Linked DNA regions of Homo sapiens: region 1 is linked to region 2. Evidence: promoter capture Hi-C in 16 types of primary human blood cells and fetal thymus (Javierre and others, 2016). All regions are on one chromosome and are shown on one strand. The core of a region is centred on a gene start or on the middle of the fragment in contact, and the rest is flanking DNA. Distances in the headings are between cores, read along the strand shown. Region 1 overlaps C1QTNF7-AS1 (C1QTNF7 antisense RNA 1). Region 2 holds the start of C1QTNF7 (C1q and TNF related 7).

Region 1 (5,097 bases), core at 2,198-4,697, 170 kb before region 2:
CTCTAGGAATCCTCAGTACCCACAATTGTAGAGGTTCTGGATACTCAGCTTCAAGGCAAATATCAAAGCATTTTCCTCAACAAAAGAGCTCTCTTGCTAAAAAATGACTTGTTGCTTCTTGCTAAGAGAATGAAAATTCCCCTTTACCATAGCTAATATTTTTAAGGACTCACTCTGAGCACTTTACATCTATTACTTCATTTGATCCCAACAAGAACCCTATGAAATAGGTACTACAATTATTTCCATTTTATGGATGGAAAAGCTGAGGCATGGAAAATATAAGTGCATTGCCCAAATCTTACAGCAAGAAAATAGTAGAGCTGCAATTTGAATCCAGATAGTTTAACTTCAAAGAATGAGTTATTAATTGGTCTATTATACTGCCCCAACCTTGATAAATGTAAGTAATTTTTGATAGTTATTTGCTTAAAAGTCTTTAATGACTCTGTTAAACCTCCTTGGACGGTGATTTAGGACCCTTCCTGATCTACTTCCAAGTTTTCTTTTTTAATTTATCTTCCTTTACTTCCTTTTGAATACTACTTTTTTTTTTTTTTCAGACAGAGTCCCCACTCTGTTGCCCAGCCTCTAGTGCAGTGCTACGATCTTGGTTCACTGTAACCTACCTACACTTCCTGGGTTCAAGCAGTTCTCATGCCTCAGCCTCCCGAGTAGCTGGGATTAGAGGCGTGCACCACCACACCTGGATTTTTGTATTTTTGGTAGAGACGGGATTTTGCCCTGTTGGTCAGGCTGTTCTCGAACTCCCGACCTCAGGCAATCCATCCACCTCAACCTCCCAAAGTGCTGGGATTACAGGTGTGAGCCATCACACCTGGGCACTACATTTCTAATACCTTTCCTTCAATGTTTCTACCTTCCTGCCTTCATGCATTTGTGCATACAGTCTCTTCTGCCTAGAAAGCTTATTTGTGCAATGTAGTGGATTCTAATCATATCCAATTTATGTGGACAACACATCATAGCGCTAATTAACAGAAGAACACAACACAACAGTTAGAGATCTATTTAGTGGCAAATGATATTAAAAGTTTTCTCTTGGAGATAGATTCTTAAAGCAGGAGGCAACACAGTAAAGTCCCAGTTAATGCCATGGCACCTCCAATTTCCCAAAGTCTTTACCAGAATACTAATACTGCACATGTTGCAAGGTTCTGCCATTCTCATCATGTGGAGTAGCTGAAGGTCAGAATTTACCGCCCTTCTATCCCTTCTGACTGTTGTTGGAACCCGGGAAATATGCCTACCTGTTAAGAAATGCAAATATGCAAAGTAACCCCAACGTGAGTGTTTTCTACAAAACTGGTTAGTTGGAGGTGAACTATTGCCTATTTTTAGGTATTTGGGTTTTTTTGTTTGTTTGTTTGTTTTTGTTTGTTTGTTTTTTGAGATGGAGTCTCACTCTGTTGCCCAGGCTGGAGTGCAATGGCATGATCTCGGCTCACTGCAACCTCCGCCTCCCGGATTCAAGTGATTCTCCTGTCTCAGCCTCTCGAATGGCTGGGATTACAGGCACTGACCACCGCACCCAGCTAATTTTTGTATTTTTAATAGAGACGGGTTTTCATCATGTTGGCCAGGCTGGTTTCGAACTCCTGACCTCAGGTGATTCACCTGCCTCGGCCTCCCAAAGTGCTCTGAAACTTTCTATTCAGGCATCTCTTCTCACTGTTTGTTCATCTGAGTGGTGCTGGTTCTGAATTTGTTTGAAGGTCAAAGAGCTCATATTCAGGTCCCAACAGCATATTTTAAAGATAGTCTTGAATCCAGTTGATCTTTCACAGAACCTTCTTTCCCAGACACTCCAAGTCATAAACTGCTCTTTCCCTCATCTGAATCCCAAAGTTGTTCTGCTTGATAATATTTTTGTATTTCATATATGGGGAGAGTAGCCACTTCCTGAATGTTTAACAGCAATTTGGTAATAAATATTTCAGGGAGTGACATCAACAAAATGGTGCAGTAGGAGATTCCAGCCCTCATCCCACCATTCTTTGAGCTGAATGTTTGTGTCCTGCCCACCTCCCCCAATACCAAATTCATACATTGAAATCCTGTCCCCCAAGGTGATAGTATTAGAAAGTGGAGCGTTTAGGAAGAGATTAGATCATGAGGGCGGAGCCTCAATATTTGTATTAGAGCCCTTATAAAAGAGATTCCAGATGGATAATTCATCTCATTTACCATGTGATGACACAAGAAGAAGTAGGCAGTCTGCCATCCAGAAGGCAACTCTCACCAGGAGCTGGGCCATGCCGAGACCCTGATATCAGACTTCTAGTCTCAAAAACTGTGAGAATTAAATTTCTGTTGTTTACAAGCCACCCAGCTTATGGTATAGGCATACCTGTTTTACTGCCCTTTGCTTTATTGAGCTTGGCAGATATTACCTTTTCCACAAATTAAAGGTTTGTGACAATCCTGCATCGAACAAGTTTATCTGTCATTTTTCCAACAGCACATTCTCACTTCATGTCACTATGTCGTATATTGGTAATTCTCACAATATTTCAAACTTTTTCATTATTATTATATTTGTATGGTGATATGTGATTAGTGATCTTTGATGTTAGCATTGCAATTGATTGGGAGCAGCACAAATCATACTCATATACGATTGCAAACTTAATCGATAAATGTTGTGTGTGCACGGGCTGCTCCACTGACCAGTAGTTCCCCCATTTATGTTTCTGCTCTTGAGTGTCTCTATTCCCTGAGACACAATGATACTGAAATTAGGCCAATTAATAACCCAGCATGGCCTCAAGTGTCCAAGTGAAAGGAAGAGTCACATGTCGAAACAATTAGCTTAGTGAATAAGGCATGTCAAAAGCCAGGATAAGCCAAAAGCCCATGCCAAACAGCCTCAAGTTGTAAACACAAAGGAAAAGTTCTTGACGGAAATTCAAAGTGCACTCCAGTGAACACAAATGATAAGAAAGCGAGACAGCCTTATTGTTGATATGGAGAAAGTTTTGGTGATCTTAATAGAAGATCAAACCAGCCAAAACATTCCCTTAAGCCAAAGGCTAATCCAGAGCAAAGTCCTAACTCTCTTCAATTCTCTGAAGACTGAAGGAACTGTAGAAAAACATTGTAAGCTAGCAGAGGTTGGTTCATGAGGTTTAAGGAAAGAAGTTATTTTCATAACAAAATTGCAATATTAAACAGCAATTGCTGAAGGAGAAATTGCAGCAAGTTATCCAGAAGATCTAGCTGAGAATATTTACAAAGGTGGCTACACTAAACAACAGATATTTAATATTAATAAAACAGCCTTATATTAGAAGAAGATGCTATCTAAGACTTTGATAGCTAGACAGGAGAAGTCATGCCTGATTTCAAAGCTTTAATTAAAGGACAATCTGACTCTCTTATTAGAGGCTAATGCAGCTAGTGACTTTAAGTTGAAGCCAATGCTCATTTACCATTCTGAAAGTCCTAGGGCCAGTAAGAATTATGCCAAATCTACTCTCCATGTGCTCTATAAATAAAACAACAAAGCTTGGATTTCAGCATATCTGTTTATATCACAGTTTACTGAATATGTTAGAACCACTGTTGAGACCTACTGCTTAGAAAAAGAAAAGATATTCTTTTCAAAATATTACTGCATATTAGCAACGTACCTGATCACCCAAGAGCTCTGATGGAAATGTACAAGAAGATTAATGTTGTTTTTATACCTGCTCACTCAGAATCCTTTCTGCTGCCCATGGATCAAGGAGCAATTTTTACTCTCAAATATTATTTAAAAAGTACATTTATAAGGGTATGGCTACCATAGATGGTGATTCCTCTGATGAATCTGGGCAAAGTAAACTGAAAACTTGGAAAGGATTCACCATGCTAGCTGCCATTAAATTCATTTTATGGGAGGATGTCTAAATATCAGCATTAGCAGAAGTTTGGAAGAAGTTTATTTCAGCTCTCATGGATGACTTTGAGGGGTTTAGGACTTCAACAGAAGAAGCATATGCAGATGTGGCAGAAATAACAGGAGAACTAGAATTTAAAATGAAGCCTCAAGACGTGACTGAATTGCGCAGTCTCATAATAAAACTTGAAAGGGTATGAAGTTGCACTTATAGTCTATGGTCATACCACCCTGAACGTGCCCAGTCTCATCCATGTTGCATTTATGAATGAACAAAGAAAGTGCTTCTTGAAATGGAATCTACTTTTGGTGAAGATGCTGTGAACATTGTTTAAATGACAACAAAAAATGTAAAATATACATATGTTTAGTTGATAAAGCAGCAACAGAGTTTGAGAGGGTTGATTCCAATTTTGGAAAAAGTTCTACTGTGGGTAAAATGCCATCAAACAGCATTGCATGCTACAGGGAAATCTTTTCTGGAAATAAGTCAATTAATGTGACAAACTTTATTGTTGTCTTATTTTAAGAAATTTCCAGTGTCAACCCAACCTCCAGCAATCACCACCTTGATGAGTCAGCAGCCATCAACACAGAGGCAAGGCCCTCTACCAGCAAAAAGATTATGACTCACTGAAGGCACAGATGACTGTTAGCAATTTTTAGCAACACAGTATTTTTTGTTTGTTTTGAGTTTTTTTATTTTATATTTTTTATTTTTGAAACAGGGTCTCTATCACCCAAGCTGGAATGCAGTGGCATAATCATGGCTCACTGCAGCCTCAATCTCCCAGACTCAGGTGATCCTCCCACCTCAGTCTCCTGAACAGCTGGGACTACAGGCATGTGCCACCACACCTGGCTAATTTTTTGTAATTTTCTTTTTCTTTGTAGAGATGGTGTTTTGCTGTGTTTTTCAGCCTGGAATCAAACTCCTAGGCTCAAGCAGTCTTCCCACCTCAGCCTTCCAAAGTGCTGGGATTACAGGCATAAGCCACAGTACTTTATTGTGCCCAGTCAGTAAGGTATCTTTTAATGAGGGTACGTATATTGTTATTTAGACATAATGCTATTTTGCACTTAATTTACTGCAGTATAGTATAAACATAACTTTTATATGCACCGAAAGACCATAACCATTGTGTGACTCACTTTCTTGCAATATTCACTTTAATGCAGTGCTCTGGAATACAACC
Region 2 (5,152 bases), core at 1,197-3,696:
ATGCAAAAACATGGTCTTTTAAAGTTAGCAACAACCTAGGGAGGAAATATGGTAAGTAGTTAGGTGTGTCAATTGTGGATCAGACTGTCTAAATTACTCATCTGTAGAAGGAGGATAATACAATTACTCACCTCAAGAGGTTATGATGAGGATTAAAGAAAGTGATGCTTGTCATGTCTTAGCACGTTGTACATGCTCATTACATATCAGCTAGAACCTTCTTTTTAAAATACTTCTACCACCTAGAAAAATGGTGTGTGAGTGTGTGTGTATGTATGTGTGTAGTGGTGAGCAGAGCTGGCTTATACCTGCCAGCAAGTGCGAATTCTACAATTCTACATTCTATAACTTTCCAACTCTGCATTCAGTGAAGGTCAGATTGTTAGCTTGAAATTGACCATGGCGGGGGTATTCACTCCAAGAAAACTAACAAAAGCTACAAATCTGAACCTTCTTTTTGAGAGCTAGGTTAGCGGCAAACTGTTAGGTGCTCTGGGAACACTGATGGGATTGGAATGGAATGGAATGAATTCAGTTGAAAAGTAAATAAAGGATATGGGGTAAAAAAGAGCACAAGTTGAGAAAGGAAGATTATCTGCCTAGGAAAGACAAAATAAGACCCCGTCCTTGGGGTGAGTGGCAGGTAAAAATGGAATCTGACTTTTACTCTGAGCCAATACTTCCTTAAGCATATTTTTCTACCCATCACTTCACCACTGCTTCTAAGTGTGAAAATAACTGAGTGAAATAGACACTGACAAGCTTTATCAACATCTGAGGTTCTGAACACTCTCAGAGACATTTTCAAAGGTTCATTCTCTCTGGGAAAAAGAATGAGTTCAGAAAGACACAGATTACAATAAATTATCTGGGATGAAAATAATAAAGAAGAAAAAGAAGAAATTCAATTTTTATTGAAGAACAGAAAAAATACTGTAATACTTTAATGATACAAAAAACCTTATTTTATGTGGTAAGTAACATTAAAGAGAAATTAGAGAAGTTGTGAATGACACAGAAAAGAAAATATGAATATCCACAAATTGTATCAACACTTTAAGGCAGAAAAATAAGAATGCATCTATTCTTTTATTGGTCTACAAATTCATCCACTTCTGAGCTCCCTGGCAGAGACTGGGCTACTCCAAAGCAGACATAATGGAAAAAGCCCACTTAAGAAGTTATCACTTATAAACAAATAAATGAACATATTAAAAGGCTGTATCACCTGAAATTAAGCTTGTAAATGGGTGACATCAGACACCATCATTTGGTTCGAGAATATTAAGAACTATGAGAAACCCTGGAAATAATCAAGGACAACCATCTTATTTTGAAAGTGAGAAAACAGACACAGAGACTTTATCTGATTAAAATCTGACTCTAATTTAGCAATAAGTTATGACTAGCTTCTATGCTCAAGACATTGTTTTGACCATCCTATGATGGCATTAAGATTTTGGAAAGCCAACAAATTCAAAGGACCATTTCCTCCAGTGTGGAGAGTGGATCCCAAAGGCAAAATTAAGCTGGTCAGAACGGGGAGCCCAGCAATCTCGTTGGTCAAGTGTGTGGTCAACATCCACTTCACTAACTCTGGAAACATTCCTTTCAATTAGAGTTCTCATTGCTTGAGAAGAATGAGAGGAAAAGAAAGATAAAAACAAGATTTTTTTCAGTCGTCTAATTTCCATAAATGACATCATAAATTATATATTGCTGTTGCCAAGGAAATATAAGAAATACATAGCAGAAGGAAACAAAGAAATTGATTGCACCATAGACGACTAGTCATATGCTTTGGAGAATCATTCTGCCTTTTGAGATGTTATGATCAGTTCTTTACAGGCACAAAGACATATTAGTTTTCTAAAAATACCCAATCATTTATCCATTCAGCAAAGAACAAAGAAAACAAAATCAGTGCAATTCTCATAACCCTCTTTCTTTGCACAGCACATAGAATGAGGGGCTATTTTCCTGCCATATTTACCAAGAATAGGGACAGTGTTCATTATTCCACAAGACACCATCCTAGGTCCAGAATCTAAAGGCTCTACCTCCAAAACTCTCAAATATAAAATGGCTTTTTTCTCTAAGTTAACAACTAATTTCCAGTCAGTGAGTAATTTTTTTCCTGAAACATTCACTCAGTGGAAAACAAATGAAGAGGGAAAAAATTAAGTAAACAAATCTGAAAAAGAGGCCACAACACACAGAGATGGAGAAGCTCTAAACTTACCACTGAAGGAAAGCAGGCACTTAAAGTTTATCCCAAACAAAACTGTAATTTTAACTGGTCCCCGAGTTGAGCCTCACTCGATGAATGACTTCCAGGGCCTTTGGCTCTTTGGGACTAAACGAGAAAATTATTTTTAGCACAACTATTTGGAAATCTTTGAGAATTTGGATCTGTTATTCTGTCTGGTACCAAAGCAAGTTTTTCACTGAGCTCTCATGAAAGATCCTCAGTCTCTTGTGGATTTAGAATCCTGCAGCAGCCCACCATCTAAGAGCAAGGTATGGTGTTTACTCTTTTTTTTAGAATTTTGGCAAATGTAGATGCAATGGCCTGTTCTCGTGACGGGAGCTTTTTAGCTTATTAAACAGATGGCTCTGTAGGAAGAATCCATAAAACTGAAGACCTAGCTTCAAGTCTCTGGACTGACACTAGCTTTCTAACCATAGACAAGTTGCGGGACTTCTCAGGACCTTGGTTCCCCATCTAACCTACCACAAGATGGTTTTGGGGAGGACGATATGGGCTTAGCATTGCTCTCTAGGATATAAAATGTTTTGCAAATGTCAGGGTTTTTTTTAATCACTGTGCCATAAAGTAGTCAAAACTTTATCAATAATGAACTGTTGACAATAATAAATATTGATGAATTTTTTTTTCTTCATTGAGCCTCTACTGTAGACTAGTCTCTGTCCTAGAGTTTGCATTTTAGTGGGGAAACAAGCAAGTCAATAGATAGCCATAACACAGTGCAATTGTGTGGCCTTGCAGGGACTTGAGTAGTGCCAGGAGGAGAAGGAGGTTAATTCATGGCAAACAGGAAAAGCAGTTCTGCAGAGGAAAATTGGAGCCCCCAAAAGCAAAGAACTGGTGAACAACAACATAAAAGGAACTGAGGCATGAGCAGCTCAGGTCTCCATCCTGTCCCAATCACAGTGCCACTCCCAGTGCAACAAGAGAAACACAGAGCTTGCTGTTGTGAAATCTCCACCTCTGCAGGCCAAGAAAATGTCCCGTTTTGGCTTTTCCTGGTTACCTATTCTCTTCTTAATGATTTCCAGGCAAAGCACATTTTCAACTTGAATTAATTATCAAGTCCAGCCCTTTGTCATGAAGTAATATGTTATAGTTTCCCTCACATGATGTAGGGACAAACTCAAGTGTTTGAAGACAAAAGAACTCAGTACAAATTCTGGCTGCACCATTTCATGCCTGTGTGGACTTGAGCCCACAGAGTATCAATGTTCTTACTTATAAAGTGAAGGTAATAGCACTTACTTCATAACAAGTGGTGTGAGGATAAAGTAAAAGATGTCCTTAAAACACCTGGCACAGAAATAAGAATACTGGGCTCTCCCTGCATTCCAATTCATTTTTATTCAGTTTTTTTAATTATGGTAAAATATACATATCATAAAATTTACCATTTCAACCATTCTTATGTGTACGGTTCTGCAGCATTAAATACATTCATTTTGTTATGCAGTATCATCACCATCTCTCCAGGACTTCTTCGTCTTCCCAAACTGAAACTCTCTATACCCATGAAACCATAAATTCCCATTCCCCTCTTCCCTTCCTCCTCCAACAGTGAGTATTCTACTTTCAGTCTTGATGAATGTGACTACTCTAGGAACTTTGTGTAAGAGGAATCACACAATATTTGTCCTTTTGTGACTGGCTTATTTCACATAATATACTGTCTTCAGGGTTCCTCATGTTGTAGCATGTGTCAGTATCTCCTTTCCTTTTAAGGCTGAAGAAGATTCCATTGTACGTGTAGACCAGGTTTTGTTTATCCATTCACCTTTCCATGGACACTTGGGTTGCTTCCACCTTTTGCCTATTGTGAATAACGCTGCAGATATGGCTATGCAAATATCTGTTTGAGTCCTTGCTGCTACGAACATGCATGTGCAAATATTTGTTTGAGTCCCTGATTTTACTTCTTTTGGATATATGCCCCAAAGTGGAATTGCCATATCATATGGTAATTCTCTTTAATTTTTTTGAGGAATCACTATCCTGTTTTCCACAGGCGCTGCACCATTTTACATTCCCACCACCAACATATTTTATTTTTCCAAGAAAAAAATATACTTGGAGTCTACTTACACTGGGGAAAAAATAATATGCTATTTACAAAGGGATCTCAATCTATGAACATGTTTTCCAGGATTTCAATCTTTGTACTGAGTTAATCAGTATTTCTCCAAGTATTTTCCATGGCTAGTTTAGCGAGAACAAAGGGCTCCATGACTAAATAAATTCACAAAATACTATATACAACATTTCTGCCTCAAATATAAGCACATGAACATGGAGCCTCTTGAATCTAAACTAACACAAATTAAATTTTTTAAATGTGTTTTAAAAACAAAAACCTGTTACTTTGTAATCCCTACAGAAAAATAGGATGGAGGATTATTTATAATTAGCATCCAGGACAGACGTGTTCAAGATTAACAGTATTTCCAGGTTGGGCGTGGCAGCTCACTCTTGAAACCCCAGCACTTTGGGAGGGCGAGGTGGGCAGATCGCTTGAGTTTAGGAGTTCAAGACCAACCTGGGTAACTTGGTGAAACCTCATCTCTCTAAAAAATACAAAAGTTAGCCAGGTGTGGTGGCACACACTTGTAGTCCCAGCTACTCATGAATTCAATTCAATGTTTTAAAGCATATTGTATGTGGAGTGACAGCTAAGGGGTACAGGTTTCTTTTTGGAGTTTTAAAATAGTCTTTAATTGGATTGTGATGTACATTAAGTTGTACACTTTGGTAAATTTTATGGTGTGCAAATTATATCCTTATAAAGCTGTTAAAAATTATTGTAATGTTTATGAAATTGTGACCTACGTGATTTATTCCCAGTCAAAATAATCAAGTTCACTGCAAGGCAGTGGGGGAGTGGGT

The links. The method cuts DNA at HindIII sites, captures the fragments that hold promoters and counts their contacts. A CHiCAGO score of 5 or more calls a contact.
Region 1: a contact is called between a fragment that was not itself captured here and the fragment with the promoter of C1QTNF7 in region 2, in 2 of 17 cell types (M1 macrophages and naive B cells). The highest score is 6.0, in M1 macrophages.

Annotation. Positions count from the first base shown.
Region 1 is chr4:15,258,107-15,263,203 of GRCh38, forward strand. All of the region lies in intron 2 of C1QTNF7-AS1 (C1QTNF7 antisense RNA 1), which reads right to left. Among named protein-coding and RNA genes, the nearest start is that of C1QTNF7-AS1, 170 kb to the right of the region's middle. The HindIII fragment of the contact is 157 bases long and covers 3,370-3,526 here.
Region 2 is chr4:15,425,587-15,430,738 of GRCh38, forward strand. C1QTNF7 (C1q and TNF related 7) reads left to right here and starts at 2,447. Exons shown (of 3, transcript NM_031911.5): 1 at 2,447-2,520. It overlaps C1QTNF7-AS1 (C1QTNF7 antisense RNA 1), which reads right to left and starts at 2,328. Exons shown (of 6, transcript NR_125911.1): 1 at 2,243-2,328. The HindIII fragment of the contact is 5,402 bases long and covers 1,238-5,152 here.